7 separate regions of the Homo sapiens genome follow, and regions 2, 3, 4, 5, 6 and 7 are each linked to region 1. Evidence: promoter capture Hi-C in 16 types of primary human blood cells and fetal thymus (Javierre and others, 2016). All regions are on one chromosome and are shown on one strand. Each heading gives the region's core, a stretch centred on a gene start or on the middle of the fragment in contact. The rest is flanking DNA. Distances are from core to core; before and after follow the strand shown.

Region 1 (3,336 bases), core at 495-2,994:
AAGTAGAAACATAACAAATGCAAGACATTATCAAGATTTGATCTTGAATTTAGAAAAAAAAATCATTAGTATAAAGGACAGTATTGGGAATTAAACAAAATTTGTATATTAAATAATAGTATTCTGTCAATTTCAGTTTCCTGAATTTGATAATTAAACTGGGACTAAGTAAGGGAATGTCTTGTTTCTAAGACTGAAGAGTCATGATATCTGTAATCTACTCTCAAAAGGCCTTACAACAGAAAATACTAGGAATATAATATGTGTATTATAGGTAAGATATGTAAAGAAAGATAAAGCAAATGTGAGAAAAAGGTAACAATGGCTGAATCTAGCTGAAGAATATATGGGAGTTCCTGCAACTTTTCTTAGGATCTAATTTTTTTTTCAAAGCTAAAAACTTAATTACAAATTCACTCTAGCAGAGATATCAGAAACTTAATTTCACTGTTATCATGGTATCCAGTGGCATAAACATTTAGCAATGTTGAGGGGGTAGCTGCCAGTAGAAATGCATAAAATAAAAGTGATTCTGTCTTTGGGAAAAAACAGCTAGGTTTCAGAAGTTGGGAAGGAGATCTATATATTTTTAAAGATAGACTTTAAAGACATAATCCTAAAGAAATACAGCTGATTTAATGGGACTAGTGGAGGTAGCAATCATATAGTAGAAGGAGCACTGGACTCAGAGTAGAAAGACATGGATTCCTGTCTTCTAACATATCCTTGGTTAGGTTAATACATCTCTTTGAGTTACAGTTTTTTCATTTGTAAACCTGGGATACCACTTACTTCACAAGGTAGTTCGGAAGATCAATACGACTATGTATTAATTCCCTATACAGTATTAAAAGTACCATAGAAATGCAACCTAATTTTTTAAAACCATGACTCGCCTCCCTTATTACCCATAAGATTTTTCGTTAAACCCATATAGTAGGTACTCCCTTTGCAGTCTGTGTTTCCACCCACCCTGATCAGGCCTCAAGTAGGATCCAAAATTTCTTCATTTTCCCACAAAAGAATTCCACTCGAGCAAGAAATTTTATTTTACTCGAGTAAAATAAAATACTTTGCTCGAGTAAGTAAAACATCTTATTGAAGAATTTTAGGGGAGACCAGGGTTTGTTTTTGTTTCTGTTTTTTACTACACATGCCCTAGCATTCAAGGGCATCAGTATCCTTTCCAGAGGCCTCCTCCCGCTAGTTCCTCTTCCCAAAACGCTTTGCATTTTTTGTTTCTTTGCTCTGGACTCTCTCTTGAATCTACCCCCTTGAGTCGCTCAGTCGAAGAGACTGAGACTTTCCCTTCTTCATGTTGGGCAACATAATTCTTCCAATTATTTACTTCCAAAAAAGACCCACTAGTACCAAGATTCAATCTACTTTTGAAGGCAGCAGATAATTAAAATGACAATTTTTTTTCTGGCATACTTGTATTCTCGGGTCTATTTCCGAGCTTTCAGTTCTATTCTGGCGACGAATCCTTGTGCCCAAACCATGAAAGACCCCCTAGAGAGATGGAGCAGAAACAAGTCAGAGCGCCTGAAGAGAGCGCTCTCACGGCCTCAGTCCTGGACGCAGGCGCGGAAAGTCCATTAAGTCCCACCCAATCGGGGTATTTCCCACCCCCTAAGCCCGTGCACCGGAAACCATGGGGGCGGAAGAGGTGCTGGGCAGGAGGCGGAAGAGGTGCTGTGCAGGAGGCGGGCGGGCGCGGTTCTTTCCGGAAGGATTGAATCTCCTTTAGCCCCGCCCGCCTCCGTAGCTGCCTGAAGTAGTGCAGGGTCAGCCCGCAAGTTGCAGGTCATGGCGCTGGCTGCTCGACTGTGGCGCCTTCTGCCTTTCCGACGTGGAGCCGCCCCGGGGTCTCGTCTCCCTGCGGGGACTTCGGGCAGCCGCGGGCATTGCGGCCCCTGTCGATTCCGCGGCTTCGAGGTACCCCCGTGGTCCTGGCTCCCGCTCCTCACTTCCTACTCAGTGGGTTCCGGCTCCCCCTTAACTTAAGTGGTGGCGGCCCCGCGCTGCCTAAGGAATGTGGTGAACCGAGGAAAGAACTCGGGGCCACTGTGCCTGGAACGCCCGGACAGGTCCCTTCCATTTTGCAAACCTCCACTATCCTTAACTGGGGCTGTCAGAGAAGGAGTGGGGTTTGCCCCCACGCGCCCCAGAAGCTGCCTGCTACCCGCCCTTCTTGTGCGAAATGTAAAACAGGACGGGAAAGAACCTTGACCGCTGTGAAATTATTCTCCCTGTAGGCGATGACAGATACAACAGCGCTTGAGGCTGCCCCTTTCAGACTTTGAAAAGTGTGGTGTGTGATTTAAAAAGTTCTACGACTCAGAAGCAGAGATTTCATACTGTTTAGGTTTTTGTTTAAAAATGTTTATTTCTCAGTTGCCCGTTGTATCTGCATAACGTCAATGAAGGTTGTCGGCATGTTGTAGTCTCAGTTCTGGTATTTCTATTAGACTGCTCGTGGGCCTCTGTTTATTCTTGTCAGGGAATTGGAATGGCATTAATGCATATGATATATTTCACATGAACTAGGGGTTTCATTATTTTAAACTCAAATTTTTAACTGCTCAGTTAAAATCTTTCAGAATTATTATGGGACTGATGGTGGGGAGGGGTGGTTAAAATTTGGCATATTCCCCTTCCTTGGAAGTTTATAACCAAATGGGGAGGTTATAGATAATATAGGCAGAGAGATGGGAGGAGTTCTAAGTATGAAACTAGTTAGCCGTAAGTTTTCAAATTGGAACAATGATGAGTTTGAAGTCCCATTTTAGGCCTGGCCCCTTGGCTCAGCCTGTAATCCCAGCACTTTGGGAAGCCGAGGCGGAAGGATTGCTTGAGTCCAGGGGTTTGAAACCAGCCTGGGCAACACAGTGAGACCCTGTCTCTACAAAAAAATTTAAAAGTTAGCCATGTACATTTTTATATGTAGTAATTACTATATATGATAATCTTGTCTGTAAGATTCATTTTTATTATGTGTTGGTGTCTCATATTTTACTTCATACAATTTGCAATATCCATGCATTTGCAAATAAGTTGTAGCAAATAAGTTGTAGCTCTTCCTTTCCAGCAGGAGTGTGATTTTTAGATGAGCGGCGACTCCAGGGGATATCTTTTTCTCAATAAGATACGCTTTGAGATAGTTTTACTAAAGATTTTGATGAAGTAATTTTTAAGCTTCCAGTATTATGATCGATTGCTTTGGGGGTGGGAGAAAATTCATGTAATTTTTGCTTGGGGTAGCAGTACCTTCAAATTTTCAAAGTTTGTAACTCTTAACATAATTGTTTCCATAGGTAATGGGAAACCCAGGAA
Region 2 (3,336 bases), core at 509-3,008, 1.4 Mb after region 1:
GATAAAAGTCAAAGACAAAGAATTCTAAAAACAGCAAGAGAAAAACATCTAGTCATTTATAAGGGAACCCTCAACAAACTAACAGTGGATTTCTCACCAAAAACTTTACAAGCCGGCAGAGAATGGTATGATAAATTCAAAGTGCTGAAAGAAAAAACAGCCAGCCAAGTACTCAACAAAGTTATCCTTCATAAACCAAGGAAAAATAAAGTCTTTCCAAGATAAGCAAAAGCAAAAGAATTCATCACCAGTCGACTGGACCTATAAAAATGCTCATGAGAGTCTTACATATGGAAACAAAAGGACAATATTTACCAGCATGAAAACACACAAAAATATAAAGTCCACTGGTAGATCAAACACACAAGAAAGAGAAAGGACTCAAATGTTACCATTACAGAAAACCACCAAACCACAATCATAAACAATGATAGAGAAGGAAAGGAACAAGGAATACACAAAAATAACCAGAAATGGATTAATAAAATGACAGGAATAAGCCCTCACGTATCAATCATGACCTTATGCAAATGGAATAAATTTTCCACCTGGAAGATATAGCTTGAATTAATGGATTAAAAAATGACCCAACAATAGTCTGCTTAGAAGAAACTCATCACACTTGTAAAGACACATATGGACTGAAAGTAAAGGGAAGAAAAAAGATATTTTATGCAAATGGAAACCAAAAGCCAGCAGGAATAGCTATATGAATATTAGATACAATAGACTGTAAGTTAAAAATAGTAAAAAAGAGACAAGAAAGGTCACTATGTAATGATAAAGGGATCGGGCACAGTGGCTCATGCCTGTAATCCTAGCACTTTGGGAGGCCGAGGCGGGTGAATTGCCTGAGCTCAGGAGTTTGAGACCAGCCTCGGTAACACGGTGAAACCCCGTCTCTACTAAAATGCAAAAAATTAGCAGGGGCTGGCTGCGTGTGCCTGTAATCCCAGCTACTCAGGAGGCTGAGACAGGAGAATCACTTGAACCCGGGAGGTGGAGGTTGCAGTGAACTGAGATCGCACCACTGCACTCCAGCCTGGGCGACAGAGTTAGACTGTCTCAAAAAAAAAAAAAAAAAATCAATTCAGCAAGAGGATATAACAATTCTAAACATATATGCACTCTACACCTAGGCACCCAGATGTATAAAGCAAATATTATTAGATTTAAAGAGAGAGAGAGAGATTCCAACAGGATAATAGTTGGGGATTTAAGCACCCCATTCTCAGTATTACATAGATCATCTAGACAGAAAACAAACAAACAAACAAAAAACATTTAATTTAAACTGCACTTTATACCCAATGGATCTAACAGAAATTTGCAGAAAATTTCATCCAAGAGCTAGAGAACGCACATTTTTCTCATCAACATAGGGAACATTCTCCAGGACAGACTACATGTTAGGACACCAAAAATGGCTCAACAAAATTTTTAAAAATAAATAATGCTAAGTGTCTTCTCAGACTCCATTGAAACAAAACCAGAAATCAATTACAAGAGGAACTTTAGAAACTGCACAAATATATGGAAATTAAAGAACATGCTCCCAAATTATTGAGCAAGAAAGAAATTAAAGAGGAAATCAAAAAATTTTTTAGACCAGTAAGAACCAAAACACAACATACCAACACCTCTGGGGTACAGCAAAAGCAATGCTAACTGGGAAGCTTATAGTAATTAATGCCTTTATCAAAAAAGTAGAAAGATTTCAAATAAACAATTTAATGTTACACCTCAAGGAACTAGAAAAGCAAGAAGAATCCCAACCCAAAATTAGCAGAAGAAAAGAAATCATGAAGATCAGAGCAGAGCTAAATGAAATAGAAGCTTAAAAAAATACAAAGGATCAACAAAACAAAATGTTTTTTTTAAAAAAATGATGAGCAAAATTGATAACAAACAAAATTCACTAGCTAGACTAACCAAGAAAAAAAGAAGATCCCAGTAAACAAAATAAGAAATGAAGAAGAAGGCATTAAAACTGATGCCACAGAAATACAAAAGAGTGTCAGAGACAATTATGAACAACTGTATGGTAATGAACTGGAAACCCTAAAGGAAATGGGTGAATTCCTTGATACATACAATCTACCAAGGTTAAACCAGGAAGAAATAGAAAACCTAAACAGACCAATAATTAGTAGCTAGAATCAGTAATAAAAAGTCTTCCAACAAAAAAACTCCAGGACTGGATGGCTTCATGCTGACTCCCACCAATTTTTCAAAGAAGAACCAAAGCCAATTCTCTTCAAGCTATTAAAAAAATTGAACATGAGGGAATTCTCCCTAACTCATTCTACAAGGCCAGCATTACATTGATACCAAAACTAGACAGGGATGCAAAAAATAAAGAAAACTACAGGCCAACATCCCTGATGAACAGATGCAAAAATCCTCAATGAAATCCTCAATGAAAACTGAATCCAACAGCACATCAAACAGATACTAGATAATCAAGTGGGATTTATTCCAGGGATGCAGGAATTGTTCAATATATGTAAATGAACACATGTGATACATCATATCAACAGAATGAAGGACAAAATCCATAAGATCATCTCAGTAGATGCAGAAAACGCATTAGATGAAACTCAGTCTTTTCATGATACAAACTCTCAACAAACTAGGCATAGAAAGAACATACTTCAATATAATAAAGGCCGTATATGAAAAACTCACAGCTAACATCATCCTGAATGGGAAAAAGTTGAAATCCTTTCCTCTAAGAACTGGAACAAGACAAGTGTGCCCACTTTCAGCACTCTTATTTGACATACTACTGGAAATTATAGCTAGACCAATCGGCAATATAAAGAAATAAAAAGACATTGAAATTGGAAAAGAGAAAGTCAAATCGTCCCTGTTTGCAAATGGCATAATCTTATATCTAGAGAAACTTAAGGACTCTACCAAAAAACTCTTAGATCTGATAAATAAATTCAGGAAAGTTGCAGCATAGAATTTTAACATACACAAATGTAGCATTTCTATACACTAATAATGAACAAGCTGATAAAGAAACCAAGAAGGCAATCCCATTTGCAATAGCTATAAAAATAAAAGACTTAGAAATAAATTTAGCCAAGGATGTGAAAGGCAGCTTTTCTCTGCAAGAAAAGCTACAAAAGACTGATGAGGGAAATTGAAGAGGACACAGTCAAACAGAAAGCCATCTCAAGCTCATGTATCAGAAGAATCAACCTTGGCAAAACGACCATACTGCCCAAAGCAATCTACAAATTCAATGCAATTTCTATCAAAATGCCAACGTCAATTTTCACAGAAATAGAAAAAAGAATCATAAAATTGGTGTATAGAATCAACAAA
Region 3 (3,336 bases), core at 479-2,978, 1.3 Mb after region 1:
TACCCAACATTTATTTTATGTATGTATGTATACATGTATGTATCCATCTCTCTATGTATCTGTCAGTTACCCAACAAACACTTCAATGTAGCATTTACTATGTGCCAGATACTGTTTAAGTGCTTTAAAAATAAAAACTCATTTTGATAACTTCTTTAATCATAACCACCTGTGGTAGGTAATATTATTGTCCCATTTTTGGAAAAGAGGAAACCAAGGCTGAGTAACTTGCCCAAGGGCACTAAATATTGTAAAGTCAGGACATAAACTCAGAGATACCATGCTACTTCTGATGCTGTGAGATGGTTGGTCACAATCATATGCTGCTACTGGACTGAAAACTAATTTCATCTTTTTGCAATTTGACAACATTAAGTAAAGGACTTAAAAACTATTATTATGCTCTGCTCCAGTAATTCTTTAGTATAAACTGTCTAAAAGCCCAAAATGTTTTCTGGAACATTAATTACCTCTGTTACTAAAACCAGTGGACACTATTAAGTCCTGTTGCATCCTCTGTAGCACTCGACACTGGTTGGCTACTCCCTCATCGTTCTCTAGTCTTGGTGTTACCATACCCTCAGACTTTTCTCTTGTCTTATTTTCCCTTTCTTCTGCCCTCTGCTACTGAACTACTAGTGTTTCAGAGTTCCATTCTTGTTCCTCTTTTTGCTAAAAACCATTTTCCTTACATAAACTTCATAAATCAACCATATCCAAGTCAAACAGGAAGCCCTCAACTTTATCTTGGGTTCCAAACCTATAATTCCGATAGGCTGCCAGAGACCTACCCTAGGATGTCCCACAGGCATCTTATTCATGTCCAGAACTGAATTTACCATTCCTCTCAATTCTTTCTCCCTTTTGATAACTTCTAAGTGAAAATCACCACTATCTACTCCATTTACCAAGCCAGCAATATGGCAGTCATTGATAATTTTTCCTATTCCCATAGACTCCGCACCAGGTTCTGTCACTTCCACTTTCCTATTCCCATAGACTCAGCACCAGGTTCTGTCACTTCCACAATGTGAAGTCACCAGAATCTCTCCATTTCTTATTGTCCCTGCCTCTAACCTAGTTTAAGCCTGTAAATCTGCTTGCAATCCAATATTCTCTTCACACAACAGTCATCTGATTTATAGCCTCTCAAATGTACCCACATGTTTCTCTACCTCTTGGCTCTGACATACACTGTCTTGCTGACTAGGAATGTCCTCTCACTTAACTCAAAACTAATAGCTATTTGTTGAAAGCTTATAATGGACTGGCTGGGTCAGCATTGGTAACACAGAAGACAGTCCCTGGCCTACAGCGAAACATGGGCAAACAAAGGAATAAATAATTCCATATTGTGATAAAGGATAGTAAGGCAAAAACCCAGGCTGCTGAGAATAAGCAGGAACCTACTTCAGTCACTTCAGATTAAGGAGAGTCAGGACAAGCATCTGTATACACTGTATTCCCTTAGTTTCCATTGCTAACTGTCACAAATGACCAGAAATGTAGTTGTTTAAGACAAAACAAAATTTTTAAATAAAATTGGTAATTAAAAATCATATATATTGTTTACAAAATGTTGTTTTGATATATGTATACATTGTGGAATGGCTAAATCAAGCCAGTTAACATGCTTTATCTCACATACTGATCATTTTTTTTGTGTGTGGTAAGAACACTCAAATTCTATTTTCTTAGCAATTTTCAAGAAGGCAATACATTGTTATTAACTATAGTCACCACGATGTGCATTAGATCTCTCAAATTTATTCTTGTCTAACTGAAATTTTGTATCTTTTGACCAACATCTCCCCAAGCTCCTGGTAACCACCATCCTATTCTTAGATTCTATGAATTTGACTATTTTAGATTCTATATATGAGATCATGTGTCTTTCTGTGCCTGGCTTATTTGCTTAGCAAAATATCCTCCAAGTTCTTCTATGGCGTCAAAAACTGACAGGATTTCCTTTTTTTTTAATGGTTGAATAGTAGCACAAATTTATTATCTTATAGTTCTATAGATCAGAAGTCCAAAATGGATCTCACTGAGCTAAAATCAAAATATTGATAAGGCTGTGCTCCTTCTAGATGCTCTAAGGAAGAATCGATTTCTTTGCCTTTCCAGCTTCTAGAGGCTATCACACTTCTTGGCTCATGACCCCTTCTTCCAACAGCAGAAAGGTCATTTTCAAGCTTCCACCTCTTTGGTTCTCACTCTCTTCTTCCTTCTTCCACTTTGAAGAACTTTTTGATTACAACAGGCACAGCCAGATATTCCAGGAAAAATCTCCACATCTTGGCTGGGCACGGTGGCTCATGCCTGTAATCCCAGCATTTTAGGAGGCTGAGGCGGGCAGATCACTTGAGGTCAGGAGTTCGAGACCAGCCTGACCAATACGGTGAAACTCCATCTCTACTAAAAATACAAAAATTACCTGGGCATGGTGGTGGGCATCTTTAGTCCCAGCTACTAGGGAGGCTGAAACAGGAGAATTGCTTGAACCCGGGAGACGGAGGTTGCAGTGAGCCGAGATCACACCACTGCACTTCAACCTGGGTGACAGAGCGAGACTCCATCTCAAAAAAAAAAAAAAAAAAAAAAAAGGAAAAATCTCCCCATCTTAAAATCAGCTGATTAGCAACTTTGACCTTAGTTCCCCTTTCCTATGTAACTGAACATATTCACAGGTCCTGGGAATTAGGACATGACCATCTTTGAGGGACCACTGTTCTGCCTACAAAAACATCTAAAAGAAGGAAAAAAAAAAACTAAGACCAGACGGTTTGGAGAAGTGGCCAGTTGTGTGTTTGTGTATGTGTGGTGCAGTGGTGGTGGTGGGGTGTGTGTGTGTGTGTTTTCACACACGTGCAGAAGTCCATTTCAGGCAGCAGGAAACACCTGTGCAGCAGCCCTGAGGCAGGAGGAGAGGGCATGTGAGAGTGCTGAAAGACAGTCAGTGAGACTGGAGTCATCTAAGAGGGAGTGCATAGACGAGGTGGCAGAGGAAGGAGGGCCAGACTAGGCAGGATCTTGTAGGTGTCTGAACGTTGTTCTAAGTAGAGGTATAATATAACCTTAAATTCTTAAATTGTATATATATTGATGACATCTGGCTTTTGAGTCCCGGAGTTCCTAGGTCAGCTCCCAGCTACTCCCTGAAGCGTAAGGCTCAGGTAGGTGCTTCCAAACACCCCTCACAGTGTGAAAAGCGTGGAACTGCCCATTTCTCTGACTTTTTCTGATAATTATAATCTGGAAGCTACTAAAATAAAGAACAACGGGGCACACATTTGTGAATACATATTCATTGTATGAAATAGGAAAAAAACATAA
Region 4 (3,336 bases), core at 610-3,109, 1.3 Mb after region 1:
TATGACTAGAAAAATTAAATTGAATAACAGCTTATATAAGTCATTTGTCTGCTATTGTTGTCTGTGTTTTTAAATATAATACTTTCTCCTTTCAGATTCCTCAGCAGCGTCATGAAAGCAAACCAGTTAATGTTGATGAAGCTACAAGATTAATGGCTCTGTTGTAATATACTGGTGATGCATCTAATTCTCCACAAAGACCAATAAATTGAATGTTTTATACAATTTTATTTTTAAAAATCTTGTTAATGTACAGGCATTGGCACATTTTAAAAACAAACTACATAAACAGATCTTTCCTATAACCTAGGAAAGTGGAATGTCAGAAGTCAACAAAATGTGATAAACTTAAAGTGCTAAAACAGAAGGCACTTCACAAAATCTGTTCACTGAAACAGTTATATATCCTCGTTTACATCCTTCACTTTACAAGTGGCAGTGAACGTCTGTTTGGATAGAAGGACATACAGAAATACAGGCAGTTTAGTGGCAGTAAAAATATAAGACAAGTAATGAGTCCTTGGCCAACTTGTTTTTGATGACCTGTAGTGTCCTTTAACTTTCCTCCTTAAGAAGAAAAAACAGAAGGATTCACAATTAGAAGAAAAGTTGAAATCCAGAATATAGTTACTTTTGGGAGTGGGGACGTTTGTGGATATTAAATCACTTATCCCCTAAAGCAATCAGAGCCCTTTGTTTTTATGGTTGAAGTTTTGTGAAGTAAAGAAAGTATTAGGGAAGAACACTTCAGAATCAGTGAACTAAAAAAGGTGTTACATTCATTATTTTAAATATTTAGGTTATTAAGAAGTCTAAAATGTTACACAGTTAGAGGTAGATAACAGTCCCAAGTTTCCATGGAATCTAATAATTTAGTATCTGGACATCAAACAGATCACAAACTCCTTCGTTATCATCTAAATTAAAGTTGTAGTCATCTGCCGGGGTAGGAGAAAGCCTTAAGAGAGGAAACACTGCGAACAAAAAACAAATTTAGTGTTAAAGATGGTTTCTACATACGGTTAATGATCTTTAACAAAATACTCTCAAATACATCATTCCAAATTAAAGTCTTGTGTAATGTGTATTTTGAAATATTCTCATTTAGTAACAATTTGTACATTGAATATTGATATTAGATTGAGAAACAGAAGTTAATTTTTTCTTTTTTTTTTTTTTTTTTTAAGATGGAGTCTCCCTGTTTCGTCCAGGCTGGAGTGCAGTAGCTCGATCTCGGCCCACTGCAAGCTCCCGACTCCCGGGTTCACGCCATTCTCCTGCCTCAGCCTCCCGAGTAGCTGGGACTACAGGTGCCTGCCACCACGACCGGCTCATTTTTTTTATTTTTTTATAGAGATGGGGTTTCACCATGTTAGCCAGGATGGTCTCGATCTCCTGACGTGATTCGCCCGCCTTGGCCTCCCAAAGTGCTGGGATTACAGGCATGAGCCATTGTGCCCGGCCTAGAAATTAAATTTTTTATTGGTTGAACTTATCACTAAGGTAATATAACTAAAAGGCACTAACGAGGCCAGGTGCAGTGGCTCATGCCTGTAATCCCAACACTTTGGGAGGCTGAGGCAGGTGGATCACCTGAGGCCAGGAGTTTGAGACCAGCCTGGCCAACATGGTGAAACCCCGTCTCTACTAAAAATACAAAAAGTAGCCAGGTGTGGTGGCAGGTGCCTGTCATCCCAGCTACTCGGGAGGCTGAGCCAGGAGAATCATTTGAACCTAGGAGGTGGAGGTTGCAGTGAGCTATCATGCCACTGCACTCCAGCCTGGATGACACTCCAGCCTGGATGACAGAGGGAGACTCTGCCTTAAAAAAAAAAAACAGAACACTAATGAAAGTGTTTTGTTTTCCACTTTGCAAACAGAAGAATGAACTGGACTTACAAAGTTTGCTGATGTTCTCTGCTTCTACATACATGTTTAGTACATCTCTAGTTACTATAACATTTGCTAACTTAACTGCTACCACTTCGTAGGTTTCTACTTTATTTGTTAGGTAGTAGGACTCTGATCCAAGAACTTACAGAAGGAGAGAAATTATTAAAGTAATTAGCATATTGTAGCTAACTGATATTTAATAATTTTTCAGGTTAGATGACAACATGGTTAATATTAATACTAATTCAGTGACTTCCCATTGGCAGCTTGAAATTGGCCTGGGTAGGGGTATTTACAAAGGCAGGTGTTCAGATCAGTTGCTTGATTTAGACAAGTTATTTTACTCTTCTTGGACCAGATCCTTCAGGAGTGGAAAGGGCTAACAGTTTATTTTCAATGAAGGTGAGAAGTATCCCCATATGGATTCCTTTCCCTCAAAATGCAAGCAAAGAAAAATAAATTCTGAAGGTTGCCTATTACTTACTGTAAGTGTTAAGGGAGAATTTTCATGAATCTTCATAGTAAAGCAGGTAGCAAATATATGTTCATTTCTTTTAAATCATGTTTCACTTATAAATTCCACAGAAGCATTACTGATAAGTGAGTTAGTAAAATTTTAACCTACTTACCGTCAGAAGACATTAACTCATCAATGATATCTCCACTAATAGATCCTGCTGGAAACAGTAATAAAGTTTTGTTATATTTCTGTTAACAGTAAAAGATACTCATATTTAAACACAAGTAGTCACAGCAGCAGCTTGACTGACATGCACATTTATTTAAAGTACTAGTACTTTGTGGACAGGTTGTTTTCATGAGCGCTTACTCTGTGCCTGGCATTACTTTTAAACTTCCAAACTCCAGACGAAGACCAAAAGACTCATTATCTGCCAGGCATGGTGGCTCATGCTTATAATTCTAGCACTTTGGGAGGCTGAGTGAGGTGGACGGATTGCTTGAGCTCAGGAGTTCAGACCAGCCTGGGCAACATAGTGAAATCCGTCTTTACAAAAAATACAAAAAAATTAGCCAGACATTCATGGCACGTGCCTATAGTCCCAACTACTTGGGAGACTGAGGTGGGAGGATCACTTGAGGCTGCAGTGAGCTGAGATCGCGCCACTGCATTCCAGCCTGGCTGACAAAGTGAGACCCTGCCAAAAAAAAAAAAAAAAAAAAAAAAAAAACAACAACAAACCTCATCATCATTCTACCAAAACTGACTCAGTTTTAGTCAGTAGTTTCATAATTCTCCCAGTTATTCAACCTTAAAACTTCAACATCACTTTCCATTCCTGTTAACTTTATCTCCAGATCTCACACATCAAATGTTATTTTGCCTACAGTGTTTCTCAAATCTGTTCGTTATTTCTCTTCCTGATCTCACTGTAATCACTGTTTTAGCCTTTTTATTTATTTATTTATTTTGAGACAGGATCT
Region 5 (3,336 bases), core at 595-3,094, 1.3 Mb after region 1:
CTTGATAGCTTGTGGAGATTGTTGACTTTATGGAGCTGATACTATATGGGGTTTCGATTTCTTTATTTTCTTATTCCTAAGGTTATCCTAAGGTTAGTCTTACATAATGCAATCTCCCAAAGAGGAATTTGAGACTCAAAAGGGTTAAAGGACTTTCTCAGGTGACCAAGGTTTCACACCAAGATGAGGACTCTCAGACCAAAATTGAAAGGATAACTTCAATAAATCTCTTCCCCAGTCACCTCTCCAATGATAGCTTTCGGAAACTAGAGCCAAACATTTCTTTGTCCTATATTGTCAGATAAGAACACATTGCTAAAACCCAATTTCTACATTTTTGTTCTTTTGTTTAATTTTATACAGTTTTCTAATCGAAATTTATCTACACCCTATTTTGTAGTGTTTCATATCTTATTTGTGCATATTACAAAAGTAGGTAAAGTGTGAAAGAGAAAAAGGAAGCATCAAGACTATTTGAAAGGAAATACACTTGTATAAACATCAGATCAGTGTTGAAAAGTCCAGATAATTCATGCCAAAGTAATTCGGCTGTTAAAGAATTTAGTAGTTCCTTGGCCTAGAATGAATAAGTCAATGTCATTCTATTGCTGTCAACTCTTTGAAATATAACCACAGAGCGATATTAGGGGCATGACGGCATTCTGTCATCAGCTCTTGTAAGGTTTATCTATTCCTTTCTGTCCTCTAGAAAAGGAAGATTTGTTCCTTTTTTTTTTTTTTTTTTTTTTGAGACAGAGTCTCACTCTGTTGCCCAATCTGGAGTATAGTGGCACAATCTCAGCTCACCACAACCCCCGCCTCCCGGGTTCAAGTGATTCTCCTGCTTCAGCCTCCTGAGTAGCTGGGACTACAGGCATGGACCACCACACCTGGCTAATTTTTGTATTTTTAGTAGAGACGGAGTTTCACCACGTTGGCTTTGAACTCCTGACCTCAGGTGATCCACCTGCCTTGGCCTCTAAACGTGCTGTGGTTACAGGTGTGAGCCACCATCCCCCTGGCCGGACAGTTTGTTCTATGAAAAGCAGTACCCATATCCCCATCTCACCACCGAGGAAGGTGTGATTTACCCTCATTCCAAGAAATTCTGACCTGGTTGCCACCATTTCACTACTGAAAGCTTGCTGCACTAGCCCTATGTGCCTAGCAAAACCTTGCACTCTTGCCAAACATATAATATTTTATCCCTTACAGCCTCCATTGCCAACTCCATTCACTCTTCTTTATTATTGCCATCAGCATACTAACATGTTCTGGAATTTCTTCTCATTAGCAGGAAACTTTCTTCCTGAATTTACATTTTCCATTTGCTACCCACCCATGCTCTCTGGAATTCCTTGGGTTCTTCTTTCTATACTCAACTGTATTATGTATTAGTTAGGGTTCTCCAAAACCATGTATACGTATTGAGGGAGAAAATGAGATTTATTATTAAAAATGGCTCACTTCATTATGAAGCCTGACAAGTCCCAAGATATTCAGAGTGAGTAGGCAAGCTGGAGGCTGGAGACCCAGGAGAGCTGATGGTGTAGTTTCAGTCCAGAGCCCAGCAGGCTCAAGACCCCAGGTAAAGCCATTGTTTCAGTTTGAATCCTAGAGTAGGAAAAAGCCGATGCCCTATCCCAAAGACAATCAGGCAGAAGGAAGTTTCCCTTACTTGGAAGAGGGTCAGCTTTTTTTTTTTTTCTATTCAGGCTTTCACTGATTAGATAAGGCCCAGCTCCTTAGGGAGGCAGTCCGCCTTAGTCCATCTACTGGTTGAAATGTTAATGTCCTCCAAAAACACCCTCATGTAAACATCCAGAATACTGTTCTACCAAATATCCGAGCACCTCATGGCCCAAATTGACACATACAATTAATCATCACACCAACCTTTAAATTTGGGGGTTTGGGGCCTATAATCTCTCCTCTCTCTACACTCTCCTCCTAGGCCCTTCCATCAGTTCTTATGGAAGTAATCTACCTAGCTTAGACATCCATTCCAGAACTGTCCAAGTGCTAAGCATATATGTTACTTAAATTTTTGACTAGGTACACTTTAAAAACTAAAAAGGAAAGTGAAATTATTCTTAATGATATATATTATTTAACCTAATACATCAAAAATATCATTTCAACATTAGTCAATAAAAAAAAAAAAATTAATGCACTCATGCTTGAAATCCCAGCACTTTGGGAGGCCGAGGCAGGCGGATTGCCTGAGCTCAGGAGTTCGAAACCAGCCTGGGCAACATGGCGAAACCCCGTCTCTATTAAAAATACAAAAAGTTAGCTGGGCATGGTGGTGGGTGCCTGTAATCCCAGCTACGCGGGAGGCTGAGGCAGGAGAATCGCTTGAACCCGGGAGATGAAGGTTGCAGTGAGCTGAGATCATGCCACTGCACTCCAGCCTGGGTGACAGAGTGAGACTCTGTCTCAAAAAAAATAAAATAAATAAAAATTAATGAGTGTTTCAGTTATCAATTTATTGTCTTTCACGTCTAATTTTACCCTGCATTACCAGCTCTGTGATAATGAAGCTTTAAGCATTTCTTTTTTGCAGCAAGCATAATGTTAAGCTTTCTTCAGTAGAAGGTCATTGCTGGAGAAAGGAACTTCTCTTCCTGGTTCCTGAATGCTGTGTTTTTTGTTTTATTCTTGTTCCTGCTGGGCTGCTTTCAGCAGCCACATGTGGCCGTGTATAGAGACATCCAGGCACTCCGGCCCAGCAGCACACTCAAGAGTATGCAGTCTCTCAGTAAGCTGACAACCCTAGCCCTAACCCAGTGACCACCTCACTGCCCCTCCCAAAACAAACCCCACATACTCCAGGCCTCATGCCACCCTATTGGCAAGCAGATGCCCCAACTCCCTCTGCATACCTGCCCACCAGCCCTAGTCTGCCTGCACCCCAAAGAGTGTTTCCCATGGCCTCCTGACATGGACACTGTCCACTCTAGGCTATGCATCTGTCAGCCAGAGTTGTTCCCAATGCTTTGAGTCCCTCTGCATACCTGTAGTCTTGCACACCAGTCTTAGCCCACCTGTACCCTGTTTCTCGCTTGTCTAGTAACTGTGGACCAGCTCAGACCTGGACAACCCAGCAAACTTCTCTGTCATCCACTGGGTTGCAACCGTATCTTCTCCAGTGATCTGAATCCCTTTGGAACGGAGGCTGGCATCCAAGTTTGTCCCTCATTAGAAACTTCCTTAGCCTCGGGATATTGTTTAGAGTTATCTTTTACATCTTTATAGTTGCCCCATTATACTTAATAATTCTTTACAGTAAACTTTCCCTGTTCAAATTACTGTGTGATTTGTCTCCTGATTGGA
Region 6 (3,336 bases), core at 503-3,002, 1.2 Mb after region 1:
AATTCTAATCACATTCCCATAACTTTTCACGAACAAAATAAGTGTTTTACTTTCTCTAACGCTAGGAATATCCTCTGAAGAATGGAGTCTTGTGTATGGATGACTGGGTAGATAAGGTACCACAGGGGAAAAAGCTAGACTGGGCAAGGTTGTAGATTGCTTTTAATGAAATCTTTGAGGCCTGAAGGCAGGGATGTGGTCTTGACCCAGCAGAAAACCTGGAGTTGAATAAGGAATGAAGAAAGAACACCAGCTAACCTTCAAAGAATCCCAACCTCACTGGGAATCTCGACAAGAATGGAGCGTGCCAAAGAGAAGGTCAGGGAGGTAAGATTAACACAGGGGCCCTTTGTAAGAAAGCTTTTGATTAAAAAGCTTTTAATTAATGGGTCTTTGAAATCCACTGGCTGATCAAAACTGCTGAAGACCCTTGATCTAGTCCATCCCACCTGCACAGAAGAACAGTGTTCACAGAAGAGACTCTATGCCACTTGTGGAAAACTTATAACAAGATTACACATTTATAGAAGTATAGGTGAAGAGTAATCCAACGTTCAAGCAGCCTTGGCATTAGGAAATTTTAATCCAAACCTGCTTTCACCCGAGGCCACTTCTCCTTATTTTATGCCTAGCAGAGGTAGACTGCAGAGGGCTGAGCACAACTAATGTTTACTGTTAATGAATACTTCTCTGCCTTCTCTTCCCTAGCAGCAGCAAAAGCAAGGCCCAGTGGATTCAGTTTGGGACCCAGAGGATTAACAATGCCCAGAGCAGGTGGCAGAGCTGCTCCCACAGGGAATGGTGGCCAAGTGATGCACCTGGAAGGTAGGAGGAGGAGAGAGGGAGGTGAGGACAAAAGAGAAGAAATTATGAGACACCAAGTGCAAACTGACTTGACTCACTCATTACCACAAATGAGACACTCTTTGGGAATATTTAGAAATAGTTAGGAGAGGGAGACTTCGGAAGAGGCTGAAATCTTGCACTAGCAGGTGGGAGTAAAGTAATGGTCATGGTGCCTCATTGCCTCATCCGCTACCAGGTAGTGCAAATCAGCCTTTCTGATGCGACACCACCACCTGGTGGTTAAGATGAGGAACAAGTCACTGCTGTCTCTGCACCTTCCTTTTTCCTTTTTTAGGGAGATGAATGCTCACATAATTGTTTTCTCTTAAGGCTTCTTTAATTCCTGTTAAATACTCCTTCTCCTTTACTGCATATTCTCCCTTTCAAGTACTGACCAGTTACTGCAAGAACATTTTATTTTATTCTCTCCATCCTCTCCCTCACTCCCTTTCTCTGTTTCTCACCCTAGCGTGTTGTTCTGGAAGACAAGGTGCCCGTAATGAAGAGACTACCTGAGTACTGGGAAATATGGCATCTATCATATTGTGAGTAACGATCTTCACTATGAATCAGCTACTTGAAAGTAAGATTTATATTGTTGAACATTGCATGAAAACTTTTAGGAGGATTTCAAAGTACTACTGAAAACAGTTTGTGAATATATGCATGTGCATAGGTGCATTAACGTCTTAAAAACTGCAATATCTTTTAAGCATTTTTTAAGGAACACCCATGAACTCAATATAACATAAAAGCTGACATATAATTGTAGATTTACACCCAGTCTTCTATAGATGCACACAACTTATCCAGAAAATTAAGGATTATATTGTCAATGTATACGTTAGTTCAAATGTGCATGAAAAAATATGCATTGGTTAATTAAATAAACACCTATTGATGTCTATCATGAGTCAAACATGGTTTAGGTGCTAAAAACTCTTGATTAACAAAATGAAAAACACTTCCTTAAGGAGGTTACATTCTTGTAAGACAGACTGATGTTTAAAAATAAATAATATTATGTTAATGATGTTGTAAATGACATGAAAAATAATAAATCAGAGTAAGGGGAAAGAAAGTAACAGGGCTGCTACTTAGAAAGTGTGGTCAGGGAAGGCCTCTTTGAAGAGGTGACATTTGAATGAATGAGGAAGTGATTCATATGAGTATCTGAGGAAGAGCATTGCAGGCAAAGAGAATATCCACTGTAAAGACTTGAAAAGGCCTGGCAGAGGAAAAACGAGGGTGTCAAGACTGAAGAGTGGTGGATGGGACAGCAGGAGAGAAGGGGGGCAGGAGCCACAAGAGCACAGATCACAGAGTACTCTATATGCCATCATAGGCACAGCAGATTTTGTTCTGAGTCATAGGAAGTCACTGCAGTGTGGAGCTCAAATGGAGTGAAGCACTCTGACCTGCTTTTTCAAAGAATCACCCTGGCCGCTGTGTGAACAATGTAGGGGGTAAAGAGTGGAGCAGAGAGACCAGCTGAGAGCCATATTTTAAGACTAGCATCCACAGGACTTGCTAGCAGATTCAATCTGGGTGTGAGCGAAAGAGAGTACAGAGATGACTGTGAGTTTTGTGTAGCTAGTGGTGCCATTTACTGAGATGGAGCATCCTTGGGAAGGGAAGGTTGCAGGCACAACAAGGGGATGGGAAGCAGAATTGAGGGATCTGGACATGCTAATGTTGACATGTCTGTCAGACATTCCATGGAGCAGTCTTATAGGCAGTTGGGTATATGAGTTCCAAGTTCAGGGGAAAGATTGGGAATGGATATATATATCTGATATATGCTGATATACACACACACATATATATAGTATATATATTTGAATATATATACATATATATGATATATAGTATATACATCTGAATATATATATACACATATATATGATATATATATACACACACACACACGTGTATATATATATGTATACATCAACCATGTTTTTAAATGTCATTTAAAGTCATGGGGCTAGAAAAAAAAATTACCCAGGAAGTAAGTGAAGCAGAGAGAGAACAGACCAGAAAGGGACAGCTGGTGAGGAGGGAGGAAACCAGGACATTCACCTCAGAAGGCAAGTGAAGAGACAGAAACACGACATATACCCATGTCTGGTAAATAATTAAATTCAGGATTAGGCATTCACTATTTCTCTGATTCCCTGTCAAGCACTGAAGAGGAATGGAAGTGGGCAAGGGTGAAAAAGCATAGATAAATTTTGGTTTTGATTTACAACTTAGTTACAAAGTGTTTCATATGTAAGCTTACCTACATGAAATTATTACAGAACAAGAGTATGTAATTAAGTTTCACCAAGTCATTTGAAAGATGCTACCTGACCTAATGATAAGCTGACACATTCACAAGAAATATGAACTGTCTACAGAGACTCATTCAAGCATACTGAAATAGATATAGCTGAGATCTTTATCTTAAAAAAAGGTTAAAATGGAATATGTCCTCCTAGCCTTTTC
Region 7 (3,336 bases), core at 572-3,071, 1.1 Mb after region 1:
AGTACCCAGGGCTGCTGATCGTGGTAAATGGACTAGTTTGTGTGAATTGGTCCTGTGAATGAACATGATTCCTGGTATGTTGTTAGCTGCTCCATTAGGATTATTGTTATTGTAGTCAAGAACCATAGAATTGTGAAATGGGAATCGACTTTGTAATAAGACAGACCTGAGTTCATACTCTGACTCGAACACTTACTTGCTGCATCACCTTCAGCAAACTAAGCAATCCCTCTGAACTTCACATGCTTTATTTGTAAATGGGGACTGGGCGGAACGGGGCGAAGGGAATTCTAGCTCCACAACGTGATGAGAATGAATGTCTGGAAGATGCTAGATACAATCCTGGCATATTTTCTTTGTTGAATAAATGGTATGATTGTCATTACATATAATATTTTCCATTGTCAAATAACAGGTTGACTTTCCTAGTTCTCTAACTTGGATGAAAATTCACATGTATTTAATTGACATTATTTGAGTTCCTGATCTATAAAAATAGCTAACACTTATTGAAAACTGATTACGCACCAACACAGTTCTGAATGCTTCACATAGTCCTACTCTACAGCTGGTGTCATTGAGGCATAGAGGTAGGTCAGATTACCCCAGGTAACTCAGCTAGGAAGTGATGGGGCCAGGTATGAAACCAAACAGTTTGAACTGTTAGCCATCTGCTATGTGGTCTCCCCGAGGGCCAGCGAAATACCTTCAAGGAGCTTATGAAGGCAACTGCCTCGTGGTGATGTAATAGCAATGCATTAAGATTATGTGAGCAGTACTCCTCTATAAAATAGAATGTCTATCAAAATGCTGGCCATTTTTAGGGTTTCCTGCCAAACTCCTTTTAACTATTTGGGGTAGCAGGGGATAACAATAACTTTACATATAATAAACAGTTGAATTCAACTTCCCTTAGTAAATAGCTTTTCAGACTTTTAAAAATTTAGTTTCTGAATGTGTCTTTGTTTTTTCATAATAACTAGTAACACTTAACTCTTCTATAAGTAATAGAATCTATTTAGTTTTGAAGAGTAGTGGATAGATTGCAAGCTCATTACCTAGTTTCACTTTCAACCAGAACTGGAAGAAATATTAAGTGGGACAATTACACTAAAAATATGCAAAGTATACATTTTAAGTATTTTATGTTCCAGAACAGCTGCCACATGTGATACTATAATCAATCTAATAGAAATAAAAGTCCACCTCTTCTTAGAACATAGGTTCTCCACTGGAGGCAGTTTTGCTCCCCAGGGGGATGTTGACAATGTCTGGACACATTTTTGGTTTTCACAGCGGGGGGAGAGAGGGACTGTGTGCCATTGGCCTCTAGTGGATAGAGGCCGGGGATGTTGCTAAACATCCTACAATGCAGAGAATCACCCACTGACGACAATGAATTTTTCTGTCCAAAACGTTAACAGTACCAAGATTTTGGAACCCTACCTTAAGAGTATACATAAGGTAATGCTTTTCTAAAAGGTCTGTGTTAGAGTTGCATATGTATCCAGCAACATGTGAGCCCTAGGACAGGGCTTTGCCCATAATACTCCCTCACTCATCTTTTGTTTATTGGATTGAGTAGAAAAGAACAAAATCCAGCCTCTACACCTTAAGATTATTGTCTATTCACTTTGCTTCAACACATTTCCAATGATGGCTTTGCACCTAAATCACAGTGGTTTGGTCAAGTTAATATTAGCTTCGCCACATGATTAAACTTCTCTTTTGCTTATAAATCACCATTTTGTATAGGGGAATTTCTGACTTCCCTTTAGTTATAAGAACAATTTAACATTTTCCATGCCAGGGGAATTGTAGGCATTACAAATACATTTTTTCCTCCTGTTCAAGGGCAGGAGTCCTCATTCACCGGTGTCACTAACTGACAACAGTCTTAAGAGTATACAAGTGGAAAATCAGCACTTTATAATCCTATAACATATGTGGATAGGCTATAGGAAACAAAGATAATTACATTTTATAACTGTAGTTTTCTCATTTGTGTTTATCCAGGTTGATTCTAAAGAAGAAAGAAAATCTATATGCATGAAAAGATGTCTTAAAAAGTTTTGAACTACTCAAAGTTAAGATTTGGGGAAATAGAAATAGTATATAACTTAAGAAAATTGCCACTGGCTGTGAACCCCCATGGCATTTTCTTTGCACTTTTTTGCTTCTCGTTAGATTGTATGTGTTTTTACCATTTCACACAAACTTTTAAAGATTATTCCACGCCGTTAGCTCTGTGCTTCTATTAGTGTCTCTATCTCTCTTTCTCTCTCTCTTCCATCTGAGTACAATGGCTAGAAAATAATACACACTTGAATGAATAAATGTCATTTAAATATTTTAATAAACAGAAGGAATAGTACAATATATTTCCCTTGACCAATGTATTGTGATTGCTTTTTTCTTTCTTTTTTTTTAAATCTTTTGCTGTCTTTGACCAAGCCAAAAGAGTTACAACCAAATTCAAAAAGCCACCCAACCCAAGATCAAAACTGGATGAGTCAAAAATGTGTGCTGTTCCTCCAAGAACTCATTGACATGCCAGTCTCTGACCTTCCTAGGATGAGGCCACAGCTCCCAGTAGCTCATGAACCTAGACTGGCATTCAGTATTTTAGGAGTTTCATTGCATCATCTGTCCATCCATCCATCCCTCCATTCCTTCAACCATGAAACAATTCACAGCAGTCTTAATGGCTCTTTTTTTAAAAGATTTGTTATAGAATTATCTCCTTCTACTTCCACTCTCAGTTAATCCCCACTCAGTGAGTCAGTGAATAAGATAGTAAGCCAGCATGGCTGGTGAGAAACCACAGGACAGAACAAAGCGGACCAGTTGGCAGGAGACTCTGTAGCCTGTTTTGTTAGCATTCAACTCTGCACCAGCTGCCCCCCACATGACCCTGCACACACTTCAGGGGTGCACATGATGACTGCTCCATGACAGGAAGAAAATATGAGAAATTCTACTTATAGTTAACTTTTTAGCCTCTAAAGTTTTCTACTTTGTTTATATTTTATAAAATATAAAATAATAAAATACTGTGAATATATACTTTATTTTTTAAAAATGCAGTGTTGTAGGAACATGTGGAAGAACTGTGTCCCAGGGGCCTTACATCATTCAAAAAGCGTCTGGAGTCCATTGCTGACCCAAAGACCCAGGTGACCCAGAGCCGTGTTTTGCAGGTCGCCTGTACCCTCAGTCCTGCTATCTGTTCCTTCTTTCCTATGGCACTGATATCACTGTTCGACATGTATTTCATGCCCAGTGTGTTGGGCACTGTGCTTGTGCCCGATAAGCCCTTTCCTTCAGTATTCACAG

Evidence for each region. The method cuts DNA at HindIII sites, captures the fragments that hold promoters and counts their contacts. A CHiCAGO score of 5 or more calls a contact.
Region 2: a contact is called between a fragment that was not itself captured here and the fragment with the promoter of RMDN1 in region 1, in 1 of 17 cell types (total B cells). The highest score is 5.9, in total B cells.
Region 3: a fragment that was not itself captured here is called in contact with the fragment with the promoter of RMDN1 in region 1 in 2 of 17 cell types (total B cells and naive B cells); the score reaches 9.2 in total B cells.
Region 4: a fragment that was not itself captured here is called in contact with the fragment with the promoter of RMDN1 in region 1 in 4 of 17 cell types (neutrophils, naive CD8 T cells, naive CD4 T cells and 1 more); the score reaches 8.2 in neutrophils.
Region 5: a fragment that was not itself captured here is called in contact with the fragment with the promoter of RMDN1 in region 1 in 4 of 17 cell types (neutrophils, total B cells, non-activated CD4 T cells and 1 more); the score reaches 10.7 in neutrophils.
Region 6: a fragment that was not itself captured here is called in contact with the fragment with the promoter of RMDN1 in region 1 in 2 of 17 cell types (M0 macrophages and naive B cells); the score reaches 7.4 in M0 macrophages.
Region 7: a fragment that was not itself captured here is called in contact with the fragment with the promoter of RMDN1 in region 1 in 2 of 17 cell types (total B cells and naive B cells); the score reaches 8.6 in total B cells.

What each region holds. Positions count from the first base shown.
Region 1 is chr8:86,507,094-86,510,429 of GRCh38, reverse strand. RMDN1 (regulator of microtubule dynamics 1) reads left to right here and starts at 1,744. Exons shown (of 10, transcript NM_016033.3): 1 at 1,744-1,938; 2 at 3,318-3,336. The coding sequence starts at 1,810. RefSeq lists an enhancer at 1,830-1,999. The HindIII fragment of the contact is 14,106 bases long and covers 1-3,200 here.
Region 2 is chr8:85,102,029-85,105,364 of GRCh38, reverse strand. All of the region lies in intron 1 of LOC105375933 (a long non-coding RNA gene), which reads left to right. Among named protein-coding and RNA genes, the nearest start is that of LRRCC1, 3.5 kb to the left of the region's middle. The HindIII fragment of the contact is 160 bases long and covers 1,679-1,838 here.
Region 3 is chr8:85,189,768-85,193,103 of GRCh38, reverse strand. The region is part of intron 1 of E2F5 (E2F transcription factor 5); the gene reads right to left. Among named protein-coding and RNA genes, the nearest start is that of E2F5, 14 kb to the right of the region's middle. RefSeq lists an enhancer at 3,155-3,224. The HindIII fragment of the contact is 939 bases long and covers 1,259-2,197 here.
Region 4 is chr8:85,211,391-85,214,726 of GRCh38, reverse strand. It overlaps E2F5 (E2F transcription factor 5), which reads right to left. Exons shown (of 8, transcript NM_001951.4): 7 at 2,523-2,570; 8 at 209-974. The coding sequence ends at 865. It overlaps RBIS (ribosomal biogenesis factor), which reads left to right. Exons shown (of 4, transcript NM_001099673.3): 4 at 96-679. The coding sequence ends at 167. Among named protein-coding and RNA genes, the nearest start is that of RBIS, 7.3 kb to the left of the region's middle. The HindIII fragment of the contact is 4,250 bases long and covers 1-3,336 here.
Region 5 is chr8:85,233,441-85,236,776 of GRCh38, reverse strand. The region is part of intron 3 of LOC124901969 (a long non-coding RNA gene); the gene reads right to left. All of the region lies in intron 1 of LOC105375936 (a long non-coding RNA gene), which reads left to right. Among named protein-coding and RNA genes, the nearest start is that of CA13, 10 kb to the left of the region's middle. The HindIII fragment of the contact is 1,402 bases long and covers 1,144-2,545 here.
Region 6 is chr8:85,295,315-85,298,650 of GRCh38, reverse strand. No RefSeq gene overlaps it. Among named protein-coding and RNA genes, the nearest start is that of CA13, 52 kb to the right of the region's middle. The HindIII fragment of the contact is 2,750 bases long and covers 378-3,127 here.
Region 7 is chr8:85,455,544-85,458,879 of GRCh38, reverse strand. The region is part of intron 2 of CA3-AS1 (CA3 antisense RNA 1); the gene reads left to right. Among named protein-coding and RNA genes, the nearest start is that of CA2, 6.8 kb to the left of the region's middle. The HindIII fragment of the contact is 4,794 bases long and covers 1-3,336 here.